Regions from separate parts of the Homo sapiens genome. Here regions 1, 2, 3, 5, 6 and 7 are each linked to region 4. Evidence: promoter capture Hi-C in 16 types of primary human blood cells and fetal thymus (Javierre and others, 2016). All regions are on one chromosome and are shown on one strand. The core of a region is centred on a gene start or on the middle of the fragment in contact, and the rest is flanking DNA. Distances in the headings are between cores, read along the strand shown.

The links. The method cuts DNA at HindIII sites, captures the fragments that hold promoters and counts their contacts. A CHiCAGO score of 5 or more calls a contact.
Region 1: a fragment that was not itself captured here is called in contact with the fragment with the promoter of MINDY3 in region 4 in 1 of 17 cell types (activated CD4 T cells); the score reaches 7.7 in activated CD4 T cells.
Region 2: a contact is called between a fragment that was not itself captured here and the fragment with the promoter of MINDY3 in region 4, in 4 of 17 cell types (naive CD8 T cells, endothelial precursors, total CD4 T cells and 1 more). The highest score is 6.8, in naive CD8 T cells.
Region 3: the fragment with the promoter of TRDMT1 here is called in contact with the fragment with the promoter of MINDY3 in region 4 in 7 of 17 cell types (total B cells, non-activated CD4 T cells, naive CD8 T cells and 4 more); the score reaches 11.3 in total B cells.
Region 5: a fragment that was not itself captured here is called in contact with the fragment with the promoter of MINDY3 in region 4 in 4 of 17 cell types (total B cells, naive CD8 T cells, naive CD4 T cells and 1 more); the score reaches 6.6 in total B cells.
Region 6: a contact is called between a fragment that was not itself captured here and the fragment with the promoter of MINDY3 in region 4, in 1 of 17 cell types (endothelial precursors). The highest score is 5.1, in endothelial precursors.
Region 7: a fragment that was not itself captured here is called in contact with the fragment with the promoter of MINDY3 in region 4 in 1 of 17 cell types (activated CD4 T cells); the score reaches 5.1 in activated CD4 T cells.

Annotation. Positions count from the first base shown.
Region 1 is chr10:17,421,225-17,424,253 of GRCh38, forward strand. The region is part of intron 2 of ST8SIA6 (ST8 alpha-N-acetyl-neuraminide alpha-2,8-sialyltransferase 6); the gene reads right to left. Among named protein-coding and RNA genes, the nearest start is that of ST8SIA6, 32 kb to the right of the region's middle. The HindIII fragment of the contact is 1,001 bases long and covers 1,004-2,004 here.
Region 2 is chr10:17,262,713-17,265,412 of GRCh38, forward strand. No RefSeq gene overlaps it. Among named protein-coding and RNA genes, the nearest start is that of VIM-AS1, 34 kb to the left of the region's middle. The HindIII fragment of the contact is 2,364 bases long and covers 152-2,515 here.
Region 3 is chr10:17,200,220-17,202,947 of GRCh38, forward strand. TRDMT1 (tRNA aspartic acid methyltransferase 1) reads right to left here and starts at 1,453. Exons shown (of 11, transcript NM_004412.7): 1 at 1,352-1,453. The coding sequence starts at 1,415. RefSeq lists a silencer at 1,091-1,150. The HindIII fragment of the contact is 5,194 bases long and covers 842-2,728 here.
Region 4 is chr10:15,858,997-15,861,973 of GRCh38, forward strand. It overlaps MINDY3 (MINDY lysine 48 deubiquitinase 3), which reads right to left and starts at 1,511. Exons shown (of 15, transcript NM_024948.4): 1 at 1,210-1,511. The coding sequence starts at 1,303. RefSeq lists an enhancer at 1,253-1,302. The HindIII fragment of the contact is 10,196 bases long and covers 1-2,977 here.
Region 5 is chr10:17,237,012-17,239,863 of GRCh38, forward strand. VIM (vimentin) reads left to right here. Exons shown (of 10, transcript NM_003380.5): 10 at 219-582. The coding sequence ends at 260. Among named protein-coding and RNA genes, the nearest start is that of VIM-AS1, 8.5 kb to the left of the region's middle. RefSeq lists a silencer at 1,759-2,053. The HindIII fragment of the contact is 3,798 bases long and covers 1-2,852 here.
Region 6 is chr10:17,280,494-17,283,464 of GRCh38, forward strand. No RefSeq gene overlaps it. Among named protein-coding and RNA genes, the nearest start is that of VIM-AS1, 52 kb to the left of the region's middle. The HindIII fragment of the contact is 5,419 bases long and covers 1-2,971 here.
Region 7 is chr10:17,619,148-17,622,046 of GRCh38, forward strand. No RefSeq gene overlaps it. Among named protein-coding and RNA genes, the nearest start is that of HACD1, 3.2 kb to the left of the region's middle. The HindIII fragment of the contact is 1,019 bases long and covers 899-1,917 here.

The sequences.
Region 1 (3,029 bases), core at 254-2,753, 1.6 Mb after region 4:
CAAGCCCCCTGTGGAACTGGCTGAGTCCTCTGTTGCAACTGCATTAGGATCTATCTGTCTTCTCCTGCTGCTTAGTCCTGTTTCCCTCATGGGCATTGTTCCTGAGAGCACTTCCTAATAAGTGTCCTATATACAAATCTGTATCCCAGAGTGTGTTGCCCAGGAAATCCAATTTACAGCAGTCCGTAATACAAAAGAAATTGTATAGTATGTAGTTTAATTGACCTGTGCTTCTAACAGGCATGCAAAAAAATTGTGTGTATAAATTGCCCAATTAACTAGCCCTGAATGAGTGAGATCTTAGAATTAAAAGGATTCATACAAATTAGAACAAGTCTTAAACTTAATTTTTTTTTAAGACTGGGTCTTGCTTTGTTGCTCAGGCTAGAGTGTAGTGGTGTAATCACAGCTCACTGCTGCCTCAACCTCCTGGGATCAAGGGATCCTCCTGCCTCAGCCTCCCCACTAGCTGGGACTACAGGAGTGTGTCACCGTGCCCTTCTAATTTAAAAAAAAAATTGTTGTAGAGATGGGGTTTTAGTATGGTATCCAGGCTGGTCTCAAACTCCTGAGCTCCAGTCATCCTCCCTCTTTGGCTTCACAAAGTACTGGGATAATAGGCAGGTGCCACTGTGCCCGGCCTTCAATTTTATTTCCTTTTGATGACGATATTTTCCATGGGTACGCAGCCATCAAAGTATAAAGGAAACAAGTAGAGAAGAATAAAGATTCTGCAAGTGTTTGCTTTATACAGCCCTTTTCAGAATTTATTATAGACTATACTATAGATTTTATTTATTATAATATAGAATTTATAATTTCATACATAAAGATAACTTCAATCCTAAATCTGCATCAATAAAGGAGAACACCTAACAATGATCTCTTTCACTTTTAATCAAGAGAACAATCTTTAAGCCAATAGAAACAGTCTTTAATCACGCTAAAAGAGAAAAAAACTGAATATTGAAGAGCAAAATAAATTTAAAAATCTTTAGGGAAAAGCTTACATTTGAAAGAGTCAACTGTTCTAAAACGTTTGTGAAATACCATTTTCAATGTCCAAAATAATGAATTTATTCCCTGGTCCACATTTTTGCCTGAAGCACCTCCCCCCTCCCACAAGTAATTAAGAGTTATTTTATGGGACAAGAGTTAGCCAGTCAGATCCAATTACTGTGAATCAGAAAGACAAAATTTATATATCCTTTTCTGTCCTCCCATAATTCTGATCTTCTCTTTACCAAATGTTAGCCAACAGCTACTTTAATCATAAGCCTGATAATGTACTACTTCATGGCAAATAGACCTTAATAATTCTACTCCTCTCTCGCTGCCAATCCTGTACTGAACAGTGAGAATACATTGACATTGTCAAGGTTCAAGACACATTGATTAATCAGGTAATACACATTCTAAACACTTAGTGAAACGGACTGTAAAAAAACTATTTTACTGACTCTGAGGGGCAACAATTTGTCTTCTTCTACTTTAATGACGATGCTGTGTCTATGTCTTTACAGTCAATGGTACTTAAAATTACCTGGAATGACTGGGTTTCACTGATTGAGTATCACTTAAAAGCCAACTGAATTTTGCTAAAATTTCCAAAATTAAACAAGAAATACTGAACAATTTTCAGCATGCTAAGAGATAGAGAAGCGAATGATAGAAAGGATAGAAATTATTGAACAATACGTTCTAGATAGGATGATGCACAAGGCTAATTTCACTTTGAATACAGCCAAGTGGAAAATGATGAAAATCCCGTTCAATGTAACAGAAAATAAATGTGCATGGGTGCAATTTTAATAGAATAGTACTGCCATTCATTTGGCTGCACCGGAGCCAAGGAGACACTCAGGGAGTGCTTGGTAACAAAAAATATGGACCTGATAAATTATGCAGCCAAATTAGCAAGTAATTAGACAGAAGCATTGAAACTGCACCAGAAACAGCAGCTATCCCAGAAATTCCAAACACGTACTAAAACAAATAAGTGGAAGCTTGTGAAATTCACTATATTTACAATTGCGCACTTCTGTTCTCGAAATCCTAATAATTAATTTCCTTGGGGGAAACTTCTGGAATCCCCCAGAGTTGGTTTCCTTGTCATCTGTTTTCGTAGCATCTTATTTTCATTTCCTGCACATAACTTAATATTCCTGGGATTCAGTAATTTGTGTTTCCCTCCTCCAACTAGCTCCATGAGTCTAGAGACCTCATGTCTGTTTGGTTCTTTGCATGCCTAGCACAGTGTGGGTTTACATTACAGGTGCTCCAAATATACTTTTTAATAAATTAATAATCTTCTCACACACTAGCAGTTCTCTTCACTTTCCAGGCTTTTCTGGGTTGTTACTTGCATTGTCTCTAGATGCTCTTCCTTTCTCTTCCACTACCACTCTGATGAGAATACAATAGCAGACAGCATCCCTAGAACAACACGACATCTACAGAAAAGGGGCATGCCCCTCCCACCCCTTTGTACTCTGCACACCAAAATAGATCACTTGTTCCAGTGCAGTCAGGCATCCCTGATGGGCCCCAAAATACATAGGCAATAATCTCACAGGAATCTTACATCTCTGTCTGAAATCATCTTCAGAACCACACAATATATATCTTACTAGGTGCTCTGTAGATAACTAAAGTGATGCAGAAACCACACATGTTCATCCAGTACCTACCACGTGACAGTTATTGCAAAATTATCCCACATCAAGGACAGACAGATAGCAAATCTCCCTTGAATCCTTCTGTCCAGCTATGGTCATGCTCACACTTTCTAACTTTCTGCCTGCAGCAACATTCTCTCCATCACCCCACCTGATGCCTTAACTGCCTTACCTTTGACCTCTATAACATTATTTCCAAATTCTTTTTTTTTTTTTTTTGAGATGGAGTCTCATTCTGTTGCCCAGGCTGGAGTGCAGTGGTGCAATCTCAGCTCACTGCAGCCTCCTCCTCCCAGGTTCAAGCAATTCTCGTGCTTCAGCTTCCTGAGTAGCTGGAATTACAGGTGCACA
Region 2 (2,700 bases), core at 84-2,583, 1.4 Mb after region 4:
TAAATTTGCCTTGCTGAGAAAACTTTTTGGCTGAATGGTGATTTTTCCTTGCAGTACCGAGGAACAAGCATTCTGTTTCTGAATAAACATTTTACTTATAACAAGAGATAAGATTAAATATAAGAATATATTATATTCTCTATTTTAGATAAGCTTGTCCTTGAATGTTGAGCATATAATGTCATCCAAAGCATCGTCCAACAGCAACACTATTCTCCTGTTAGTACCCTATTCTCCCTTTTAGGAAATCTCCCATAGTGTGGAAGTCTTTCTACTGAAATCTAAGTAACAGACAATTCCTCTTTCTACCACAAAGCAGTCAGGGATGGAGGACTCTTTCCTTGGACTTCAAATCTTCAGTGAGTGTTAGGAAGGTAGAGAGATGTCTGAGGTTCATGTTCACGGCCACATGGTTGATGATTTATGGACTAGACACAGCGTGCTCTTTTGTGTGATTCCAGCTCTCTAGCTTCCCCAGACTTCTTGGCTGTTTTTTCCAAGCCTGGTCGTCCATCTGCCATCTCATTCCAATAAATTGGAAATGCAGTTCAAGATAGCTAGAGTTGGAGTCTGTGGTATTGGGGGAACCCGCCCCCAATATTTCAATGTAGGTTCTTTCTATTTTCCCTAAGTGTCGGCGGGTCTGAGAAATAAAGAGAAAGAGCACAAAGAGAGGAATTTTACAGCTGGGCCGCTGTGGGTGACATCACGTATCAGTAGGACTGTAATGCCCACCTGAGCCTGAAAGCCAGCAAGTTTTATTAGGGATTTTAAAAGGGGAGGGGGTGCAAGAACAGGGAGTAGGTCACAAGATCACATGCTTCAAAGGGCAAAAAGGAGAACAAAGATCACATGCTTCTGAGGAAACAGGGTAAGGACAAAATCAGGAACTCCTGAGAAGGGTCTATGTTTAGCTGTGCACGTATTGTCTTGATAAACATCTCAAACAACAGAAAACAGGGTTCGAGAGCAGAGATCTAGTCTGATCTTAAATTTACCAGGGTGGGGTTTCCCAATCCCAGTAAGCCTGAGGGTACTGCAGGAGACCAGGGCATATATCAGTCCTTATCTCAACCGCATAGGACAGACACTCCCAGAGTGACCGTTTATAGACCTCCCCCCAGGAATGCAATTCTTTTCCTACGGTCTTAATGTTAATATTCCTTGCTAGGAAAAGAATTTAGCGATATCTCTTCTACTTGCACGTCCATTTGTAGGCTCTCTGCAAGAAGAAAAATATGGTTTTTTTTGCCCGACCCCACAGGCAGTCAGACCATATGGTTGTCTTCCCTTGTTCCCTAAAATCGCTGTTATTCTGTTTGTTTTCAAGGTGCACTGATTTCACATTGTTCAAACACATGTTTTACGATCAACTTTTACAGTTAACACAATGATCACAGTGGACCTGTGGTGACGTACATCCTCAACTTACGAAGATAACAGGATTAAGACATTAAAGTAAGACAGTCGTAAGAAATTTTAAGAATATTATTAGGGAAGTGATAAATGTCCCTGAAATCTTCACAATTTATGCTCCTCTGCCATGGCTCCAGCCGGTCCTTCCATTCGGGATCCCTGACTTCCCATAACATCTGGCTTGCCACTAAGACCCTGATGAACCAAGCCTGCATTTTTTTTTTTTTTTTTTTTTTTTTTTTTTTTTTTTTTTTTTGCTAAAGCTACTGCCAACCTTCTTGTGATGATCTGAGGGAATACAATTTAAACCATGATTCATAATTGTGCGAGGTACATGAGTCACCAAGAAAGGCAGGGTAAGTAATTACAAAGTAGTTATCTCTCTTTCCATAATTTTAAATTGAATATCACTTTATTCTCCATTTACAGACAGAGAGATTACAGGCAGTAATCTTCCTTTCTAAAGCTGACAGTAACTCCCACAGTAATAAATGGAAGCCTGTTTAATAAGAAATATTTACGTGTGTGACTGTGAGCACAGCTGAAAACGTGGTGTTCTTCGTAAATTTAGAACTGCATTTTCTAAATGTCGAGTGTTTATTACCTGGAAAAAAGAAAGGAAAAACAACTCTACATTTTAGACGTGTTCCACAGCTTCCTTGATGAGACATTTTAAGGACCATTAGTTGTCTAAATAGAGATTGTATTTTAGAGTGGAGACTATGAAAGAGTGTTCTCTAGTTTAAGGTTATATCCTTTACCTTGTGATAGAGTCAAGCTGTAAACTCAAAGCAAGCATCTGGCACTCTGGTTATTCTAAGTCATCTTTCTTTGCTCTCCCTTTTAAGCATCTTTCTTCACTTTAAAAACAAACACAAATAAAAGCACCTATCACAGGGAGGGCCTCAAACGAGGGCTTAATAGGTGTTGCTTTGCTTCCTCTTCTCTTTTCTTTAGTAGGCAGACTAAATTCTATGACTCTGATCTGAGGGTTAACAGTAGTCCATCTATGGATTCTATGGACTTGATGTATCTTATACTGTGGTTCCTGGAAATTCATTTTATCAGGAGTGAGTGATCTTTTCAGAAAAGCTGCTCAAGCTTGAGCCTGGGAGGTGGAGGTTGCAGTGAGCTGAGATCATGCCACTGCGTTCCAGCCTGGACAACAGAGTAAGACCCCATCTCAAAAGAAAAAAAAATCTGCTCCAGATTTTCAGAAAGGAAAATAAGATTTTACACACACACACACACACGGTTTTTGTGTCTGGTAAACTAGCAAACTGT
Region 3 (2,728 bases), core at 203-2,702, 1.3 Mb after region 4:
TAAATATTCGACACTTAAGGAATGGCTGAATTACAGCTTATGATAAAGTACTAAGCAATTCATTAAGGAGTTTCAAGATATGGGAAAACGCGGACATTATATCACTTTAGAGAATTAACAAAGAGTAAATAGTACTAGAGTTTTGCTTTGATGCTGCTAAGTTTTAAAATGAGAAATAAAGATAGCCGGCAAACAAGTACTAAAAACTTAATGATCATTAACCTAGTCTAGAATTGAAACTCAATAAATCTGCTCAAAAAACTTATACGCTAAACCCATTAAATATTGTCTGTATCTTACAGTTACTCTTGTTACTCTTGGTCCTAAATAAGGAAGCAGGGAAGTTTCAGTTCGGTGGTTGTCTTAGTAATTTAAGAATAAACATGCACCTTCAAAGCCTGTTTGTCATTCTGTATCCCCAGCTCCTAGCACAAAATCTGGCACAGAATAGGAGCTCAATAAATAATTTTGAGTGAATATCACCAAAAGTAAAACTTTCAGTTCCAACTCAGCATGAAAGAAATCAAAAACCTCAAAATCAAAGACGTGCATAAAAGTAATAGTTTGCTTGATAATATCTCGTGATGTCGTTTTAAAGTAATAGTGATAATAATGTATAATATTTGGAGTGGTTACAATGTATCAGGCACTAACAAGCACTTGACAGACTTTAATCCTTATAATAATCATTCTCTTTTAAAACCAGGAAACAGGTTCATCACTGTTCACGAAGTAGCCCAACGTCACACTGCCACCAAGCTGGAACTCAGTTCTCTGGCATCTAAACGCAGAACTACAGAAGACACGTTTCTTTCCAACGATCAGACGTCCAAGTTCTTCAAGCTTCCTCTACCATCCTATTTAGCATTCGCAAACTTCTACCTTGAATTGTAGCTATTATCCCTTCCAAGATCCATCTCTCACCAGGGGAGCCCCTGACACTCCCTCCCTCCCCAGCTGGGAAGCCCCCCAGGATGAAGGACCGAGTCTCCATGCTTCTCGGTGGCTGCACACTTAGAATGGGGGCTTGGCACCAGGCGAGGGTCTCGCCCCTTTGATACCCTTTGAGGTTGATTTACTGCCTTGCGAATCCCGACTCCCAACTGGGCCCTTTGAGGCGCCATGTGCGGCCCCTCGAGCCAGACTCGGCGCCAGGAGAAGGGAGTCAGCGTCTGGAGGGGTGGACACGGCGGCGCGCAGGAGCTGTTTCCAGGACAACCGAGGGCCGCCCCACAGTGTCCGCCCCACAGTGTCCGCCCCTTGCGTCTCGCCGCTCCGCCCCTTCCCGGCGCGGGTGCTCCAACCAGCCCCCGTGAGCGAATAGAGAGAGGGGTGCTAGATGGACTCTCACCTCTCAGCGCGTGGTGCATGCCGCCCACGCCGCTGTATAGCTCCAGCACCCGCAGGGGCTCCATCCCCGCGCCTCAGCCGCCGCAGCCCCGGAGCTAGGCCTGCCGGTCCGTCGCTCCTCCTCCCTCCATCGCGCCGCTCCCTCAGCCTCTGGTTCCGCGGCGTTTCAGTTCCCCCGTCTCCTACCGCTCCAGGCTCAGGGCTTCAGAGGGCCTCGCGGCCTGGGGATTGGCAAGGGTCTAGAGGGGAACAAAGGACGGAAAACAATAAGGCTTCCCGAATGAATGGCAGCCACTCTGTAGCCTGATTTACGCTCCATTTCCTTCTTTGGTGTCAGGGGCCTTGATTGGAAAAGAAATCCAGAGTTCAGTAAAGGGGAGAAAACTGCCTTGGTTTCCAAGTGAATTAACACTGGTTAGAAGCCAGAAAAAAATCATTTTTCAGACAAGCTGCTTTTCTGTCACTTAGAAGCCTGAACATTCAAACATTCTTTCCACAGTGTGCCTTGTTTCCTGCCTGCCCTGGGTCAATAGAGAGAAATTAGACCAGCCTCTCCCCTAGAGAAGATTCCAGAATTATAAGTAAGGACACAAGTCCACTCGCAGCAGAGAAAGCCCTGTGTGCGTGCTGATAATACAGAGGATGTTTGTTGTGTCTATTAGTGGGGTTAATTATGTTTTAGCTTGGAAATTACACCTACATAGAATACACAGTGAATATCATGTAGGATTATTTATGGGTCTTTAAGTGCTATGGCCTTGATTCCTCAGGATGATCCAGTAACCAACTGTTAGAGGCTCATGTTGACGAAAAAAGCCAAACTCCGTAAAATGTTTGAAGAGGTTTATTCTGAGCACAAGGTGAGGACCGTGACCCATGACACAACCCCACAGGGTCCTGACAACATGTACCCAAGGTGGTTGGGCTACAGCTTGGGATTATATGGTTTTAGGGAGACATAAGGACATTAACTGGTATATGGAAGGTGTACTTAGTTTGGTCCATAAAGATGGGACAACTCAAAAAGGGGAAGGATTCCAGGTTACAGGTGGATTCAAAGATTTTCTGATTGGCAGTTGGTTGAAAGAGTTAAGTTGTGACCTAAAGACCTGGAATCAATAGAAAGGAATGTGTCTGGGTTAAGATAAGGTGGAGACCAAGGTTCTTATTATGTAGACGAAGTCTCATACGTAACAGGCTTCAGAGAGAATAATTGGCAAATGTCTCTTATCATGTGTAAAAAGATGCCAGACTCTTAGTTAAATATCTCTTGGATCAGGAAAAGACCTGGAAAGGGAAAGGGAGTCTCTATAGAATGTAGATTTTCCCCACAAGAGATGGCTGTGTAGGGCCATTTCAAAAAGTGTCAAAGAAATTT
Region 4 (2,977 bases), core at 261-2,760:
AGAGGTATATTAGGAATCGAGAGACCTGGAATCCACTCCCAGTTCTATCGATTTGTGCAACTTTGGCCCAGTCATTTACCTTTACAACTAATTTTTTTCGCCTGCAAAGCAACAGTGAGGGACTAAATATCCCAACTTAACAATACATCGTAATTGTAATTTTACCAGCTCTTAAAACAAACATGTGGGAGGGAGGGAGAGATTACGTAAATCCTGAATTTTTGTTACAAAATACACGTTTTGAAATAGGGGTTTATATTTACTATGCCAAAATTCCGCCCAATCTATTTCGGGAACAGGTGTTCCCTAAATAGATGTTTTAATAATAATAGTGTTTTACATACATAAATTATTGATCCTTCTGACTCAAGGTTATGTTTTAACCTCATCATCATCTTTCCTAAGTCACCTTTAGGAATGTGTCAGTTGTTTGCCTATCCAAACTTAAGAATTAGGGATAGTTACTAGTATAAAGCGCCCAGCCTGTTACAGTGCAAGAATTCAATAAATGCTTATTTTATTTCATTATTATTTGTACTAAGACTCTTCATGTAAGTAAAAGTCCTGTCTGGGTTACAAGCATACCGGCCGAGGAAGTACTATGATCCATATTCCTTTTTTAACCGTGACAGATAATAAACCATATAAAAAACGGGGATACTTTGGGCCAAGAGTACACTTTTTAGCAAATAACAGTGTTTATACACAGACTACCACGCCTAACCACATAATGACAATACAAACAAAAAACTGCTTTTTGGAATTAGCCACTTGGACTTTCCCTTGGACGTCCCTCCTTCTCACCAAAAATAGACCAACCACCACCAATAGACAGCTCTGTTAGGGGGTAAAGATGCGGAAGGCCACAGCACCCCTTGAGAAAGTGACACCGGGGCACGGGGCGCATCTTCCGTGTCACGCCCTGCAACCCAGCAAGGGGCCACCCTCTCCTCCTCCCCAGCCGAAGGGCAGCCCGGAGGATGGAAAGAGCGCTGCGGGTATTTAGTGGCAGCTGTAACCATTCTCCTACTCAAACTCTCCCCACCAAGGCAAGGCAGGGCGTGTCTAGAAAGTCCAGCTTCAGCGCTGAGCACGGCGACTGGGGCAGAGAGCGGGGCACGCGAGGGGCTGGAGCGAGAGGCGTCACAGGCGGACTCTCGCAGGGCAAAAGAAGCAGCGGCTGCAAGTGTGAGAGCCCCGCCAGGGTACCTTGCGTCCAGCGGCAGAAAATGGTGTCCGAGAGACCGGGGCTGCTCTTGGTGCCCCACACCAGCTCCATCAGCTCTTTAGTCAGTTCGGACATGATGAGGAACCGGCGGGCGGATCTTCGCTTTGCGGACTCCTGCCCCGGAACATGGGGAAGGGGCAACTCCGGAAACAGCAGCTGCGGGACGGCGGCGGCAAACGAATTGGAAGGTGAGGCAGGAAAGAAGAAGGGGCTGAGAGCCACTTGCAGAGACCAAGCCTGTCAAGCCAGGTTGGGGCAGCAGCGAGTTTTCCGTACCGGAAGTGCTGGTGCCACTTCCGACTCCTCTTTAACTCCCGCCCCTTAAGGCTGAGGGCCCGGAAGTCCCCTCCCCGGAAGTGAAATTGGAGGCGGAAACAGGCACGGAAAGCGGTGGAAGTAGCTTCTGACCTTTCTGAACTGTCTGGGACCCTTTGGTGGGGTGGTAGTTTTTGTATTGGGAAGGGGCGTCGGCGTGTTTCTAAACTCCAGGAATACCTTCTTCCTCTACGCACTGCTCTGGGCTAAGCTGGAGGCTCTGAGGCCCAGGCACTAGGAATTAGAACATATGCCCATTGCTTGTATTTTTCAATATTAATTTTGCAAAACTAGAACTATAAGGCAATAGTTGAGTCACAGTGCGGTAACATCCGTGCCTTTGTAGGGCGCTTCTCATAAGCTGGAGGCTGTCCGCCTCTGTACTTCAATAAATCAAAGTCAGACCAACTATTACCTAAAAACATGGCAAAGAATGTGGCATAATGTGCATTAGAAATGCTTCCACCAGCTGCAACGCAGAATTACAAGGTATTTGTAGGGAAACAAATTCAGAGCAACCTGTTTGTAAATGTTACAGCATTTTCATCTCCAGTTTTTGACACTGCAGAGTGTGTGGGCAACACCTGGACTAAAGTTTAGGTTTTACTCATTAACTAGCAGTTAAATTGAGTTCATGTGAAAACTTATGTTTGTGCTGCTTAAAAAAAGAGGGCTTGTATTGCCCGAGCTTTGAATTTAAAACGAAAGGGCAAAATCTGATTTAAAAAAAAATACATGCTTTTATTTTGGTTCTGTAAGGTTTCTGTACTCCTTGGAAACCATATTACTTTGGGATGCAGTAATGCAATAGTTAAGAGGCCAAGCTGTGGGTCATACTGGCCCATATTCCTACCTTTTGCACTTACTAGCAAGTTACCTACTATCTACCTAGGCTTTTTTCTTTCTAAAAGGGAGATTGCATACATTTCATATATTGTAAGGAATAAATGGAAAAAGTAACACATACAAAGGATTTGGTGTACTTCCTAGCACATGGAAGGCATTTATGCAACAGTGGGTATTTTTTTTACCTCAAGAAGCCATTTTGTGGGAATTTGATGCAACAGTAGTTCTGACTTTTTTACCCATAAATTCTAGCCAGTTGTATTTTAGTATAATACGTTATGTTCTCTAATTTCAAAAACATGCAGTTTCATTGTAGAATACCCTTGCATTTGGCTAATTAAAATTAACCCTTAATTTAAAATCTTTTAGATTGCAAATAAGGTTTTGTTAATTTATGCTTTATTACTAGCTATTTTTTCCTATTTATACGTTATTTCTAATTTTATTTTAATTAATTTAATTTTATTTCTTCAGTACCCTTTACTGTAATTACAGGGACTTGCCCAAAGTGCCTGTAGTAGAGCCATAGCATTCCTTTTGATCTTTATTCCCTTTAGAATATCCCTTGCCTTGTTTTTGCAAATCAAA
Region 5 (2,852 bases), core at 283-2,782, 1.4 Mb after region 4:
AGTTACAACATTCCACTGGATCCTTATATTGCCTGTAGTGGAAGAGGGTCTTGTGTGTCTGCCCCTTCTAGTTTTCACTCATGCAGAAGCAACATAACCTTCTGATTTGCACAATAAATTACATATATTTAGCAGGATTTTTATTTGCCGTGATATATAGGATAATTTAGTCTTTGGCATGTGGCATTATATTTATTTTGGTTTTTTTTTTTAAACAGGTTATCAACGAAACTTCTCAGCATCACGATGACCTTGAATAAAAATTGCACACACTCAGTGCAGCAATATATTACCAGCAAGAATAAAAAAGAAATCCATATCTTAAAGAAACAGCTTTCAAGTGCCTTTCTGCAGTTTTTCAGGAGCGCAAGATAGATTTGGAATAGGAATAAGCTCTAGTTCTTAACAACCGACACTCCTACAAGATTTAGAAAAAAGTTTACAACATAATCTAGTTTACAGAAAAATCTTGTGCTAGAATACTTTTTAAAAGGTATTTTGAATACCATTAAAACTGCTTTTTTTTTTCCAGCAAGTATCCAACCAACTTGGTTCTGCTTCAATAAATCTTTGGAAAAACTCTTTTGTTGTGTTATTTATTGGATAATATCTAAACAATTCTCTACTTGGTCCTATTAGTTAATTTGTCATTACAATCATGTAAGTTGATAAATTCAGGTTATTTATGCTTGAGATGTAGTTCTTAATTTTGTCATTTTTGATAGACCTCACTTCTTTTTATTATTACTTAAAAACATTTACAAATAGGTGGTGTCGAATAAAATAACTTGTACCAAAATGAAGATAGGTCTCTCTAAAATGAGCTCAGGTCTGTGATTTTAATCATAACAAACAGACTTCCTAAAATTAAAAAATAAAAACTTTTTTTAGTACATATAGCATATGAGTAACACAAATTCCACTTTGGGAGTTAAAGCATAGGAAGTTGCCAAGATATAGGGGCTTATCTTCCGCTAGCAAGATGCAGAGAAATGGAAAAAGTTCACCAAGTTTTTCTTTTATTTAAGACAGGATCTCACTTTGTCACTCAAGCTGGAGTAAAGTGACTCAATCATAGTTCACTGCAGCCAACAACTCCTAGGCTCAGGCAATCCTCCCACCTCAGCCTCCTCAGTAGCTAGGAGTACTCAAAACAAATAAACGAATGTCTAACTTTAGCCTAAAATGTGAGTTGTCTTCCCAAAACTAGCCACACACCTGGCTAATTTTTTTAATTTTTTGTAGAGATGGGGTCTGGAAGTGTTGTCCAGCCTAGTCTGGAACTCTTGTGCTCAAGTGATCCTCCCTCGGCCTCCTAAAAAGCTGGGATTACAGGCATGAGCCACCACACTCAGCCTAGTTCACCAAGATTTAATATATGAAACCGTTCTGCTTTATTGTGTGTGTGTGTGATAGCTATATCTATATCCATCTATCTATAGATACAGATATTTGTAAAGACCTTTGTGTTTGGAGAATGGCATTAGGCACAAAATAAAACCTCCTACCTTTTCTTCCAGGGAGATGAGATTATTACATGTGAATCGCATGGTGCTAACTGTAGGTGTAATAAGGTTTCAAAGTCTGGAGCAATAAAAATGAAGTGGGGCAGTCATGGAAAGCTCCCTAGAAAGCACTCAGTGTGAGCATAGAACTTACATAAATAGACGAGAGAAGGTATTGCCAAGAGGCAATAGTGTAGTAATGGTCAATAATGTGTGTTCTGGAGTGAAAACTTCGAGTACATTCTCGGACATCTCTAAGTTTCAAATTATGGAAATATTATTATCTTCTCTCCTCCGAGAATGATGTGGTAGACATTGTCATAATTTTTCTGTGTTTGCATCTGCCTCTCTCTGGAGTTAACTAGTGAGATGGTTCTCACAAAGCCCTGCCCATTTGCAGGAATGTTCACTGTGATTTTCATCATTTTGGTTACCGTGGGTACTGCATGAATAAAGAAAGGATTGGGGCTGGATGCAGTGGCTCATGCCTGTAATATCAGCACTTTGGGAGGCTGAGGCGGGTGGATCACTTGAAGTCAGGAGTTCCGGACTAGCCTGGCCAACACGGCGAAATCCTGTCTCCACAAAAAATACAAAAATTAGCCAGCCGTGGTGGTGGATGCCTATAACCCCAGCTACTCTGGAGGCAGAGGCAGTAGAATTGCTTCAGCTTGGAAGGTAGAGGTTTCAGTGAGCCAAGACTGTACCACTAAACTCCAGCCTGAGTGACAGAGCGAGATCCTGTCTTAGAAATAAAGAAAAAAAGGATTGGCTGCTGAAGTAACTCCTAGCCATTCTAAAGGTAAATTCTAAATGTAAAAGTAAACTTTACATTCTAGTTTACTTGGGACATTCTTGGTTTATGACTGTTGTGTAAGCATAATTATTAATAATAACAGTTTGGACAATAGATTGTATGTGGTCAGGTCATGCTACCCTTAGAATAATCTTACAGAAAATGTGTCTGTCCCCTCAGCCCCCATATTCAAACAACTGACATGGACAATGGCATAATTAATTTTATTAGTGTAAACATCCAGGTCTTTGGGCCCTTATGAAACCTTTTCTATTTGATTTTTCGTTTTGCTTTCTGTTCTTTAGCCATTCTCACCACTGTTCCCCGCAGCCTCCTAACCCTAGGATCCCTGTCTCCTCTTCCACTTGTATCCCACCTTTGGCTTATAAGGGTCATCCAGGGAAGACCCCAGCCCCATATTGGCTTTCTTCACACACCAGACTCATTATTATTTTTTTAAAAATTGAAAAACAAGCCACAGTTTTCTTTCAGGGGAAAAGAACCAGGACAGCAAGTTCTGCTCATACCTATTGAGATTAGTAGACTCCCAC
Region 6 (2,971 bases), core at 449-2,948, 1.4 Mb after region 4:
AATCAGAAGAATTTTTCAATGTATTATTAAGTGAGAAAGCTAAGATATGGAGGAATTTCCATAATATGATTTCATTTTAGTAAAAAAAAAAGTTAAATCACATTGTGTCTGTGTTTATGCTTGTACAAAAGCATGAAGGAAGGTCCAGAAGGATGCTCAGTAGCTTGGTACACAAGGTACCCTGCTTCTTCTGGTGGTGGAGAGAGATGGTAGTAATGCCAATGTTTGGGAAGGAAAGAGAGAGAGAGAGAGACCCAAGATTAAAAAATATGTATGGTATCTCTGTTAGCCCATTTTCACATTGCTGTAAAAAAAACTCTCTGAGACTGGGTAATTTATAAAAAAAGAGGTTTAGCTGACTCACAGTTCCATATTGCTGGGGAGGCCTCAGGAAACACAATCATGGTGGAAGGTGAAGGGGAAGAAAGGCACTTCTTACATGGTAGGAAGAGAGAGAGACTGAGGGGGGAAGTGCCACACTTTTAAACCATCAGATCTCGTGAGAACACCTCACTATCACAAGAACAGCACGGGAGAAATCTGCCACCATGATTCAATCACCTCCACCAGGCCCCTCCCCTGACATGTGGGGATTACAATTCAACATGAGATTTGGGTGGGGATGAAGAGCCAAACAATATCAATATCTATGCATCATTCTATATGTGTATGGATATAAAGAAATATATGAAAAGCAGGTCTCCAAAATTAAATAGTGTCATGTGACAAGATATCAGAGATGGTTTTGCCTCTCTGTTTCACATATTTTTGAGTCTTAATTTTAATTAATGTGTGTTTGTATTAGTCAGGGTTCTCCAAGGAACAGAACCAATGGCAGAGAGAGAGAGAGAATAGATGATTTGATAAACAGAGAGATAAATAGATGATTTAATAGATAGTTAGAGAGATAGGAAGATAGAGGATAGACATAGATATAGATAGATGTTTAGATAGATAAATACATAGGAAGATAAATAGATGATAGATAGGGAGATAGAGAGGAAGACTGATAAATCATAGATGATTTGATGGATGATAGATATATGGATAGGAAGACAGATAGTCATATGGTTAGGCTGTATCCCCACTCAAAATCTCATCTTGAATTGTAATCCCCATGTGTCAAGGATGGACCAAGTGGACGTAATTGGATCATAGAGGTGGTTTCCCCCATGCTGTTCTTGTGATAATGAGTGAGTCTCATATGATCTGATGGTTTTATCAGCATCTGGCATTTCCCCTGCTTGTTCTCATTCCGTCCTGCTGCCCTGTGAAGGTGTCTGCTTCTCCTTTGCCTTCTGCCATGATTGTAAGTCTCCGGAGACCTCCCCAGCCATAATAAACTGTGAATCGATTAAACCTCTTTCCTTTATAAATTACCCATTTCTTCATAGCAGTGTAAATTGGTACCGGAAGTGGAGTGCTGCTAGAAAGCTACCTGAAAATGTGGAATAACTTTGGAAATGGGGTAACAGGCAGAGATTGGAACAATTTGGAGGGCTCAGAAGAAGAAAGGAAGATGTGGGAAAGTTTGGAACTTCCTAAAGACTTGTTAAATGGTTTTGACCAAAATGCTGATAGTGATGTGAACAATGAAGTCCAGGCTGAGGTGGTCTCAGATGAAGATGAGGAACTTGTTGGGAACTGGAATAAAGGTGACCCTCGCTATGCTTTAGCAAAGAGACTGGCAGCATTTTGCCCCTGCACTAGAGATCTGTGGAACTTTGAACTTGACAGAGATGACTTAGGGTATCTGACAGAAGAAATTCTTAAACAGCAAAGCATTCAAGAGGTGACAGAACATAAAAGTTTGGAAAATTTGCAGCCTGACAATACAAGAGAAAAGAAAAATCTATTTTCTGGGGAGAAATTCAAGCCAGCTGCAGAAATTTGCATAAGTAACGAGGGGCCAAATGTTAATCACCAAGCCAATGGGGGAGATGTCTCCAGGGCATAACAGATAACTTCATGGCAGCCCTACCCCCATGACAGGCCCAGAGGCCTAGGAGGAAAAAATGGTTTTGTGGGGCAGGTCCAGCGCCCTGCGGCTGTTTGCAGCCTTGGGACTTGGTGCCCTGCATCCTAGCTGTGCCAGCTCCAGCTGTGGCTAAAAGGGGTTAAAGTACAGCTTGGGCTGTTGCTTCAGAGGTTGTGAGCCCCAAATCTTGGCAGCTCCCATGTGGTATTCAGCCTGTGGGTGCACAGAAGTCAAGAATTGAAATTTGGGAACCTCTGCCTAGATTTCAGAGGATGTATGGAACCTCCTGGATGTCCAGGCAAAAATTTGCTGCAGGGTCGGAGCCTTCATGGAGAAACTCTGCTAGGGCAGTGCAGAAGGGAAATGTGGGATTTTTGCCCCCACCGAGTCCCCACTGGGCCACCACCTAGTGGAGCTGTGAGAAGAGAGCCACTGTCCTCCAGACTCCAGAATGGTAGATCCACTGACAGCTTGCAGCATGCACCTAGAAGCCACAGACACTCAATGCCACCTGTGGAAGCAGCTGAGGTGGGGGACGATACCCTACAAAGCCACAGAAGCAAAGCTGCCCGAGGCCATAGGAGCTCACCTCTTGCATCAGCATGACCTGGATGTGAGACATGGAATCAAAGGAAATCATTTTGGAGCTTTAAGATTTAATGATTTCCTTGATGGATTTCAAACTTGCATGGGGCATGTAGCCCTTTTGTTTTGGCCAATTTCTCCCATTTGGAACAGGAGAATTTACCCAAGTCTTGTGCTCCCATCATATCTAGGAAGTAACTAACTTTCTTTTGATTTTACAGGCCCGTAGATGGAAAGGACTTACCTTGTCTCAGATGAGACTTTGGACTTGGACTTTCGGGTTAATGCTGGAAAGAGTTAAGATTTCGGGGGACTGTTGAAAAGGTATGATTGCATTTTGAAATATGAGGACATGAGATTTGGGAGGGGCCAGAGGCAGAATGATATGGTTTGACTGTGCCCCCCACC
Region 7 (2,899 bases), core at 158-2,657, 1.8 Mb after region 4:
TCCTAAAAAAAAAAAACCTCCTGGAACTACAAGATCAACATAACAAAAATCAATTGTTTTTCTACATGTGTACACGGAACAACTGGAAAATGAAATTTAAAATAAACCATACAACGTTAATCAGCATCCAAAAACATGAACTATATAGGCATAAATTTCACAAAATATGTGTGAGACGTATACACTGAAAATTATAAATCATTGCTCAAAACTATAAATCTCTGCTGAGAGAAATGAAAGATCTAAATAAATAGCTGTTGCCTGTTCATGAATTGGAAGACTCCATACTGTTAAATGTCAATTCTCTCCAAATCCCAGCAGATTTTTTTTTAACTTGACAAGCTAACTATAAAATTCATGCAGAGGTACATAGGAAGAAGAAAGTTGGAGCACATATACATCTGGTTTAAAGACTTACTATAAAACTAGTTTTCAACACACTGTGGTACACATAAGGTGAGACATAGAAATCAGTGAAACAGAATCAAGTCCAGGGATAGACCCATATGTATGTGGTCAATTGATTTTTATAAGAAGCTAAGGTAATTTCCATGTGGAAAATATAATCTTTTCAGTAAATGAAATGACTGGATACCCATATCAAAAAATAAATCTTACCTCACACCATAGATAAATATTAAGTTGAAATGAATGACAGACCTAATCATGAAGCTATAATTACATAATTTCTAAGAAAATACAGAACAATCTTTGTGACTTTGGGGAAGGTGAAGATTTTGGAGGTAGAAAAAAGCACTAATCATAAAAAGGAAATAAAAGACAGATTGAACTTCATCAAAATGGGAAACATCTGTGTTTTCAAGACAACATTAAAAAAGTGAAAATATTCACGACAGATGTCTCTAACAAGGAATTTGTATCTGGAACATATAATGAAAGCTTACAACTTAATAAAACAATTCAATTTTTTGAAATGAGCAAAAGATTTGAATACACACTTCACAAAGATATAGAAATGGCCAATAGCCGGCCAGGCACTGTGGCTCACGCCTGTAATCTCAGCATTTGGGGAGGCTAAGGCAGGCGGATCACCTGAGGTCAGGAGTTTGAGACCACCTTGGTCAACATGGCAAAACTCCGTCTCTACTAAAAATACAAAAATTAGCTGGGCGTAGTGGCACGCCCCTGTAATCCCAGCTACTTGGGAGTCTGAGGCAGGAGAATCACTTGAACCTGGGAGGCGGAGGTTGCAGTGAGCCGAGATGGCACCACTGCACTCCAGCCTGGGCTACAAGAGCAAAACTCCATCTCAAAAAAAAAAAGTAAAAAAGAAATGCCCAATAGCACATGCAAAAGTGCTGAATCTTATTAGTCATTTGGGAAATGCAAATTAAACCCACAATGAGATAGCACCACACAACCACTCAAGTGGCTAATATTTTAAAATGTTAGCAGGGATTGGCATTCTCATACAAGGCTAAAAAGAATACTGCTTTGGAATATAATTTGGCAATTTCTTACATCAATATACACTTACTTAGCATATGATCCAGTAATTTCACTCTTGGTATTTAACCAAGAGAAATAAAAACATATGTCTACACTAAGTCTTGAAACCAAATGTTCATAGCAGCTTTAGTAATAGTAATTCAAACTGAAAATAACTCATGTGTCCATCAATGTGTGAATGAATAAACAAATTGTAGTGTATTCATACAATGGAATATTACTCAGCAATAAAAAGGAACATACTATTGTACATGGCACATGAATGAATCTCATTAACTTTGTGCTGAGCAAAAGAAGCCAGACACAAAATATTATATAGTATATGATTACTTTTATATAAAACTCTAGAAAAGCAAAATCTAATCTAAACGGACAGAAAACAAAAAAGGTTGTTTCCTGAAGTTGGGGATTCCTGTAGGGAGACTAGACTAAGAATAAATACAGGAAAGCTTTTGTAGTAGTGTGAATGTTCACCATGTTGATTGTGGTGGTTACACAGCTCTACATATTTGTTGCAACTCATCATACCGGCCGGGTACAGTGGTTCATGCCTGTAATACCAGCACTTTGGGAGGCTGAGGTGGGCAGATCATCTGAAGTCAAGAGTTCGAGACCAGCATGGCAAACATGGTGAAACACCGTCTCTACTAAAAATACAAAAATTAGCCAGGCGTGGTGGTGCACGCCTGTAGTCCCAGCTATTCGGGAGGCTGAGGGATGAGAATCGCTTGAACCTGCAGGCAGAGGTTGCAGTGAGCCGAGATCATGCCGCTGAACTCTGGTCTGGGCAACAGAGACTCGTCTCAAAAAAAAAAAAAATCTCATCATACTGAACACATAAGATAGATTCATTTCGTTGAGTATAAATTATTAAAATTGATTTATAAATGCCATGAACACTACATATTTTAACGTGTAGAATTTATAATACTGATATGTTTAACATGAAACCCAAATGTTGTGGCAGAATGCCTTCGTATTTTGCAGTTAATAGTTTCCCTACCAAATATTCCTTTAAAGCATCGAATCTGCCACAAGATAGAACTCATTTTCACAACAGTAATGCATGTTACAAAGTTCAATGTAATAACATTTTGAAAAATAAACTTTTAAATGCCCTAAGAATAAATAATATTTCAACAGATTTATAAAATCGTCCCTATAAAATGTGAATTTACCATGTACTATGTAGAAATAGGTGATACCAAAATGAGTGAAACATGGAGCCTGTTTTCATGAAGCTAACAATTGTTATAAAATGGATAAGAATTTCATACAAATTAATATATTCTAAGATATGTTATTAACATGCCACCTCTCATGTGCCAGACACTTCAGCTGATTTAATCCACACAATCTTTTCAGGTATTACTATCCACATTTTACAAATGAGCTCATTGAAGCCTGGAGAAGTTAAGAAACTTGCCCA